2 separate regions of the Homo sapiens genome follow, and region 1 is linked to region 2. Evidence: promoter capture Hi-C in 16 types of primary human blood cells and fetal thymus (Javierre and others, 2016). All regions are on one chromosome and are shown on one strand. The core of a region is centred on a gene start or on the middle of the fragment in contact, and the rest is flanking DNA. Distances in the headings are between cores, read along the strand shown.

The links. The method cuts DNA at HindIII sites, captures the fragments that hold promoters and counts their contacts. A CHiCAGO score of 5 or more calls a contact.
Region 1: a fragment that was not itself captured here is called in contact with the fragment with the promoter of OLFML1 in region 2 in 1 of 17 cell types (endothelial precursors); the score reaches 8.4 in endothelial precursors.

The regions. Positions count from the first base shown.
Region 1 is chr11:7,119,725-7,123,877 of GRCh38, reverse strand. No RefSeq gene overlaps it. Among named protein-coding and RNA genes, the nearest start is that of RBMXL2, 33 kb to the right of the region's middle. The HindIII fragment of the contact is 2,186 bases long and covers 1,762-3,947 here.
Region 2 is chr11:7,483,118-7,487,676 of GRCh38, reverse strand. It overlaps OLFML1 (olfactomedin like 1), which reads right to left and starts at 2,171. Exons shown (of 3, transcript NM_198474.4): 1 at 1,673-2,171. The coding sequence starts at 1,801. RefSeq lists an enhancer at 1,990-2,494. The HindIII fragment of the contact is 6,703 bases long and covers 1-4,559 here.

The DNA of each region.
Region 1 (4,153 bases), core at 1,605-4,104, 360 kb after region 2:
AGGAGTTTGAGACCAGCCTGGCCAACGTGGTGAAACCCTGTCTCTACTAAAAATACAAAAATTAGCTGGGCATGTTGGTGGGCACCTGTGGTCCCAGCTACTTGTGAGGCTGAGGCATGAGAAACACTTGAATCCTGGAGGCAAGGGTACAGTGAGCCAAGATCAAGCCACTGCACTCCAGACTGGGCGACAGAGTGAGACACTGTCTAAAACAACAACAACAACAAAAAATAGTGATGCATCTATACCTTGCAATGCTAATCAGCAATAAAAAGATACAAACTATTAAAACATGCAAAAACCTGAATGCATCTCCAGAGAATTTTGTTGAGTTTAAAAAAACAACAGCCAATCTTTAAAGGTTACACACTGCATCACTCCATTTATATAACATTCTTAAAAATACAAAATTATAGAAATGGAGGAGATTCGTGCTTGGAAGAGTTTAATGAGGGTTACTCTAAACTGACTAAATTGAATAAAGGTTCTTCAAACTGGAATATTTCTGTATTATTTCTTAATAATTTAATATTTTCTTATTTCTTAATGTATTATATTAATAATGTATATCTCTAAATAAAAAGTTAACAAAAAACTACAAGAATATTAACTTAATAGTGAAAAATAAATAAAAACTTTTTCTTCCCAAATTTGTCTTTTTTTCTTGTTGCTTCATGCTTTCTGTCAGAAAAGGAGCAATAAATATGTGTACTGAACACGTGTGACAGTCATTTTAATATTACCTCATTTGGTGCTCACATAAAACTCTGAGGCAAGTTCTATCATCCCATTTTCTATTTCAGGTATCTAAGTCTTCGAGAGGTTCTGTAACTTATTCAAGATTAACTGTTGAGCATCAAGTGACAAAGCCAAGATTCACATTTAGATCTGTCTGGCTATAAAACCAGTGCTCTTGACTGCCATAATGTCCTTCAAAGACAATAACTTGAGAAGGATTTTATTTTAGACTGAGAGCTTGGAGCATGTGATTTTAATTGTGTTTCTCTTCACCCAGTTTTCTTACATTTCCTTCCCTACATTGCTCCTCTGCTGCAATGCAGATATATTACTTGTATTCCAGGAGCATCACAGGCAAACTGAGCTTTTTCTGCTTCACTGACTGACCTCATAAAATCCAATACTTCTCCAGTTTTTAAATAGCTCATGGAAAAACTATTGGGCATTGCCTGCAGTATCCAGGGTTTGTTCCGTTCTGAATCTCAGTAAAAGTAGCTGCCTTATGCTTCCCCATCCTCCCTACTGTCTGATGAATCTGGGCAGTGGTGGCAGTGGTTTTTAAGTATGTTAATAAGAAAACCCACTCATTCTTATAATTAAAATTCTCACGTGGATTGATTCCTCAGTCTTCTGCTCAGATTTTCATGGCTTGCAGATATTAAATTATTATTATGTGGATATGGAGGTTCTTTAGGATTGTCAGCCACTCAGGTTCTACAGAGATTCTAGTAAACAAAATGCTACACAAATCAGCTTTTTTCTGCAGTAATCTTTCTCAATAAGTCCTTCAAAATTTTTTGAATATACATTAATTATTTACCATGTGCTGGGCACTGTGCTATGTGTTTTAAATATGCTGAATGACTTAATTCTCCCCAATCATAAAGTGAGCTTTTTTTTTTTTTTATCATTCCTATTGTACAGATGAGAAAATAGACATGGAGAAGTTAAGTGATTTGCCTTAAAACCACATATGGGTTGGAATTTTGAACTCAGGAAGTTTGATTCAAGAGCACAAAAGCTTAAACACCATGTTACACTTCTTATTTTAATGAATTCATTTCTGTATTTTATAAATTTATTTCCATGAGCCTTTGAAGATCACTAGAAGGTAGTTGAAGTTGGGAAAGAAAATTGAAGTACAAAAAGTGGCAAAGAAATAGTGATTAAAAACATTTTATTTTATAATAATTTCAAAGTTAGAGAAAGGTTGTAAGATGAGTAAAAAGAATTTCAGTATGCCTTGTCAGGGTTCCCAATTGTTAACATTTGACACAATTTCTTTGCCATTCTCTCTCCCCACTCCACCCTGCCTTTATCCACACACACACATTTTCCCCCCAAACCAGTTGAAAATAAGTGGAAGCCATGATAATCCATTATGCCTATATCTCTAAGAAAAGGACACTCTCCTATATAAGTACAAAATTGAGAAAATGAACATTGAGACCATAAAATTCACAAATTCCATTCAAATTTCACAAATAGTCCCAATATTGTACATTATAGCAAAGGAAAGTACAAGAATATTCTGGTTCAAGTTCTGCCTGAGATAAAATGCTACCGTTGTCACTTTTCATTTTCTTCCGTCTGAAACAGTTTCTGTCTTTTCTCGTTCATGATGTTGACATTTTTGAATAGTACAAGCTAGCTATTTTGTAGAATTCCCCTCAACTTGAGTTTAATAATGCTGCTTCAATATTAGATTCAGGTTATGCATTTATGGCAGGAACATCACAGAAATGATGCTATGTTCTTCTCAGCAGATCATAACAAGAAGACAATGTTGATTTGTATCATTCTAAATGATGTTAATTTTTATCACTAGATAAAGGTGGTGCTTGCCAAATTTCTTCACTATAAATTTGTAGTCTTCCCTTTACAATTAAGTATTTTGTGGAGAGATCCTTTGATATTACATTAATATCTTATTCCTCATCAAACTTTTACCCACTAGTTTTATACTCTATTGATGATTCATGCCTAAATAATTACTATGATGTTTGCTAATAATGACTTCCTAACTTTCTATCATTCCTTCTACATTTACTAGTTGATTCTGTACTGTAAGAAAGAGCTTTTGCTTCTCCCATATTTCTTTAATCATTTATCTCACTATGGACTCACTGATCCTTATTTTAATCAATAGGTTATAATTCATTACTATCTTTATTTATTTTGATGCTGAAACTCTCCCAGTGGTCCTTCTGGCTGCTTACTGTGTCATTTTGATAAGTCCACATTGTTTTTAATCATTCTCTTGTTTTATGACAAATCAAGATATTTTGGGCTCATCTTGTACTTTCCTTGCCCCAGCCCTGGAATTAAACATTTCTCTAAAAAGTCTTTGTTTCTCTTATTGGAGAAACATACATATATAAGTCCAGATCTGGACACTATGTGTGTTCTTTGCTGCTGGGGCTCCATTGCTTTTAGGCTGTCTCAGCAGAAAAAGCTAGAAAATATAGAAAATGTACACACACACACATGTATCTATCTACACATGCACATACAGGGCTATGTCCTTTTCCTTTCTTTCACTCTCTCTCTCGTGTGTGTGTGTGTTTGTGTGTGTGTATAATATAAATATATATCTCTCTCAAGAGTTCATCATACTGGTATCTCCAATTCTGATGGAACACCATTCTGTTCTAATTTTCACCCTTTAAATTATTGAATATCCTTTCTCTTACAGTGAGAAACTTGGCTCCCGTTACTTTTGGCCATTTCCTTTATTTATAAACAATGCCTTTTTAGCTCCAGCCCCACAGGATCCATTAGCCAATGCTGTCTCCTAGGCCCTAAATGCCTCCTCCACCCAGGCCTTGCAGTCTCGCAGGAATAGACATTTTTGCAATTAAGCATCAGAAGAGTAAGAACAATAATGTAAACAGACCAGGGCCTTAGAACTGCCGTGTTGGTGGAACATGTGAGTGATAATCCAAGGCTGCATAAGGTTCAGTGTACATACAAAAGATGGAGGGGGTGGTTAGGAAAGACTTTATGTATAAGCTAATCACTGTTCAGCCCTTAAAATTATATCTGGCAAAGAGAAGAGACAGAGAAGGTACAGGTAGAGTGCACAGCACGAACAAAGATATGGAGGTATGAAACAGATTTTTCTATTCAGAAAATTTTAAGCAGAAGACAAAACCTGCAGAGAGAACTGCAATGAGAGATAAAGCTGTACAATATGCAGGATACAAGCTTTATACATTATTTACAAAAATGTTTAAAAGTTATTCAATAGTTAATGGGGAGCTATTGTCTAGTTTTAACATGAGAGATATTTTAGTTCTAAATGTGAGTTTTTAAAATGCCACTTTGTCTGAAGCATTGAGATTAAAATTGAAATGGGGCTACACTGAAGGTGGCAAATAGTTAAAAGACTGCTGTGATATATCAGGGAAGGGAT
Region 2 (4,559 bases), core at 922-3,421:
ATTTACATCTTCATCAGATTATTAAGGGAAAAAAAAACCTTTGTATTTACATCTTCATCAGATTATTTTAAGGTAGATTTCCAGAATATCCGTCCCTAGCACTTGGCACAGGGCCAAGCACATAATACTATTCAATAAATATTTGCTGAACAAAAGAATAAATGAATGGAAATGGGATTGCTTGGTCAAAGAGAATGTCTACTTAAAGCTCATTTGGCATGGTTTATCAAAATTCTATCCACAAATGTAAAAATGTATGCTCCAAACAACAATACGTAAGGCTGTTTATTTTGAAGGGAGAAAGACAGAAAGAGAGACCCAAAATAATTCCCTAAATCCCTACCCTCTTTTTTCCTACCCCTCCGACACTGGCTTCTCAGGCTGGGAATGCTATCACTGTATTGTTAAGTGTCTGCGCTGGCCAACAGTGACTGCCACCTGCGACTTGGCTTCACCTCAGGTCAGGACTGGGGTGGGAAGATCTATACAGATCATATCCTTGTCTTTTTCAAATCCACATTCATAGCTATAAAAGGATCAGTCTGTACTTCATACCCTTGACAAGTTCTTAAGGTAGTGAAAGACAATTTGCAGGGATTTGGCTGGCTTTACTCCCAAGGCAAGTCGGTGCTAAATGCAGAGGGATCCTGACTGAGCATCATTCTGGCACTTCTAAGGAGGTGAGGCTCAGGAGGGAGCAAGTGAAGAAGCGCAAGAGGCCGCTCGTCTGGGAACACTTCATCCACTGCCTCCAGGCCCCAGCCTGTTGGCTGGACGCCCTTAGGAAATGCATTCGGCCTGCTATGTGGAATTACTTTACCCTGACTATAACTAGAAGAACATATAATTTGGACATGAAGATTTTTCAGGAAAATGTATAAAATAATTATTAGCAATAAGAGGGTCTTTGAAAGAAGATAAATAATTTATCAATTTAGCTTGTACAAAAGCAAGCCATTAAGTATGAATAATCAATGCCAGGGTGTGGCAAAGGCTAGGGTGGAGGGTTACATTTGTCCCTGGGAGCCTGTCCAGGCTGCCAAAATGTTGGGTTTTGCACATTTTAATGAGGTGGCAGCCCAAATGCATTCTTTCTGTTTAACTTGGCTGAAATCTGCTCACTTCTAAGTCTAAATCCAGTTCAGCAAAAGAAACTAAGACTTCTCAGTACATTGATATCATGACTTTTTACAGTGACCTAATGGTTTATCATAAAAGACAAAACGAAAAGCTGAAATCCATTATCAGCCTGAAACACTAAAACATGAAGAAAAAGTAACCAACATTTTTAAGTTTCATATTTTAAAAAATGAACTATGGTGAATAATAACATTTTAGATACATACCATTATGCCAGGCAGTATTTTAGCTATGGATTAAATCTTCAGGATAGCCTTACAACATAAATTCTACTATTATCCCCATTTTACAGATGAGACAAACTGCCAAATCAGAGCACAAAGTGCAACTGTGCTTAAGGTCTGGAAGTAGCACACTGGACTCTGGAGTTCGGCTCTAAACTGCCAGACTATGAGCATTTTAAAGTGTAACTTTGGCAATGTGTCATTTGCTATCTGGGAAAAATACAACCCAGTAGATAGAGAAGCATGGGTAAAAATAAGGTACTTCTGGGAAGCCTGTTACTTATCCAAGGTGTACAGATGCCACCTACCTCCAAGACTCGAAAGCGCTGGTAGATGTAATGCACCATGGCTGGGTCCTGGGTACACTGCGGCGGGGGCAGAAAAGCTGCAAGGAACAGAACCAGCAATGCAGAAGCTCCTCGAAGGGCCACCATCATCCTGCAAAACACCAAGCAGGGCAGTCTCTTATGCTGTGGCTCTTCTCAAGGATGTCTCAAGGGCTCCGGTGGTGCTCTCCTGCTCTATCCGCTGCTGTGGCAAATCCTCTAAAAACAGCGTTTTGCACAGCAGAGAGCAAAGTCCGCTTGTTATTCCACCCGATACGTGAGCTCAGTTTGCCAGCTAGTGATCAAGTCCAGCTGTTGGCAAGTTGGTCCCTGAGGCCTTGTAGACTGACCTGTGGCAGAGAGCTCCCTGGGTCCAGCATCTGTTGCCCTCACCCTTGACACATGCGGACCCTCCCCAGGCTAGTGGTTGCAAGCTGCTTCCTGGCTTAATTGTGTGTGCATTGGGGTGGGGGGTGAAGATGGCTTCCCCCCGTTCCCTTCCCCCAGCTATTTCCTTTTTACTTTTGCTTTCCTCCTCCCTAGTGGATTCTGCAGTCCAATCGCAGGCCTTCCCCAACACAAACCACCCCCAACTTTTTAAAGTTGGACTCTCAGTTTAGTTTCTGGCAAAAATTCCCAGGATCCTTTTCCAGAAGTCCTATTGGGAGACCCCACCCCTCATCCAGACTCCCTTCACATTCCTGCAGCTCTTAAAGGCACAGCCAGGAAAAATAAACATGGATCTACCACTATCTCTGAACAGCCAGTGCACAGGGCTACATCGCCCCTTGGGCAGAAAGGTACAATGGGCTACAGGCCTGGCCATCCAGGCTGTCAGCTGAAACATCTCAGGATGGAGCTGAGAATAATTTGATTAAGAGGAACAACAACAATCATTGATACAGTGATGCTTCCAGGGTCAAGCCATCAAAAAGTGAAACGCCTTTGTAAGGAAATCCTTGAGTTTTCTCAATCACTGGAGGCAGAATTCCCTTCATGTAGCTGCAGGCCAGAAATATGTAGGACTAAACTCCTGCAGGCCCTGGTCCAATTGAAGATAAATTATAACCCTAGGACAAGGTGGTAAAATCTTTGAATTTGTCTGTGCAGTCCAGCCCTCTTCTTATCTCAACCTGCCTTTCCATGGGAAAGGCCAGGACGCCTTGGGGTTCTTTCTCAATCACCTGCCAAACTGAGAAAGGCTGGGGCATCTATGGAATGTGAAAAGAATGCTCTCCAGGAGTCAGAAGGCCTGTGTTTCCATTTGGTCCTCACAAGAGACGCTAATAGATACCTTTATCAAAACATTTCACGTACCCCATAAACACCTACTATGTATCCACAAAATTTTTTTAAAAGAGACACATAGACTGAGAATTTTCCACTGGTGGTCCTTAAACTTCCTTATGCCCGGTAATATTTCTCCCCACCCTTCTTCCATATGGCCACAGCTCCTAACTATTCCTCCTCACCCTCTCGGTAAAAATCCCAAACAGTAGTTCATCATCCTTAGAAACAATTCCTCATATTTCTTAGAACCATCTTTGCACTATTCCCTAAACCAGTTGAACTTCAGCTGACCCTGCCTCCTAAATCCTTATTAAAAATTCTGTCTGGCTCACGCTGCTTCTCCAAGTGAGAATATTCTCTCTGAAATTACTCATGCCTAGCATTTTTGAATAAAGTCTTAAGGGTGCTCTAGTTGATTTACTTCCACAAATGCCTCAAGTCCTAACTCTGAGACTGTGAACTAAGATGGATAAGGTCCAGTGGAGGAAAACTCTGATTGTATCTAATTAACTTTTCGGTGGTGGTGGTGTGGGTAGTTCTTTCCTGGGTTTTCTAGAGCATGCTTACATTACTTTTTCAATGAAATACACATGCCATACTTACAGAGTCTAAAGAATTACTGGAGAGTCTGTAAGGGGGAAATGCAGTGGGAAGCCTCGGTTGCAGCAGAAGTCCTTGAGGTGCTTTCAGGGCTGCTGTTGCTCTTATCTCTGTGGAGTGGGCTCCAAAGAGGTTGGCTCAGGACTGGCAGGCACCATCTCTGCCCACCAGTGATTCAGGCCCAGCACCACTTTCTCTGCGGTCACCACCTTCTTCAGAGGGACACTCCTGGCCTCTCAGCTCTGACTGCCCACACCTGGTCTTAACTGGAGAGCTTCATTTACTTTTTGTAATCCCAAACAGGGACAGCAAATCTCACAGCTGGAACCCATAACCCATTAGGATTGATGACCCATAGTTCAGAACCAGAGTGGAAACTCTCATATTCTCGTGACCAGAGGTTTCATAAAGAAAAACCAAACTCACTTTGGAGACAGACCCAGCCTTGACTCGCAGTGGCCTACTGAAGCCATCTTTATTAGAACAGTCCCTCCTCAGTGGGTGCCGGGTGGATAAGGGTGAAAAAGATGGCCTGCCGCACCTAGACCTGCAGCTGGACGAAATCAGTTAGCTCCACTGTCTTCATTACACGTAACCTCTGGCCTTGACCGTTGCTATTACTAGCCAGGACAGTGGACAAGCACAGTGACTTCTCTTTTCTCCTCTGCAAGTGTCTGATCCTTCCGCTTTTCTACCCCGGTATCCTGAGAGGGGAAATAAGCTCCTTTATATCCACCACTATTTCCTCTGTGTGGTTGGATCCAGGTGACTGGTCCTTAATCTATAAGCCAGGCCTGAGCTGACTGTTTTCTCTAAATGAGAAGGAGCCGGATATATCAATTCTCTCATCCCAGTTAGCCCCCTGAAGCTGATCACATCCAGATCTCCAGTTCCTTTTGGAAATTTTTGCTGCCTTCATCCCTCTTGGCTCCATTTGCTGCTGTGCCTCCACGTTAACCGACCTTCTGATATCTAGAGC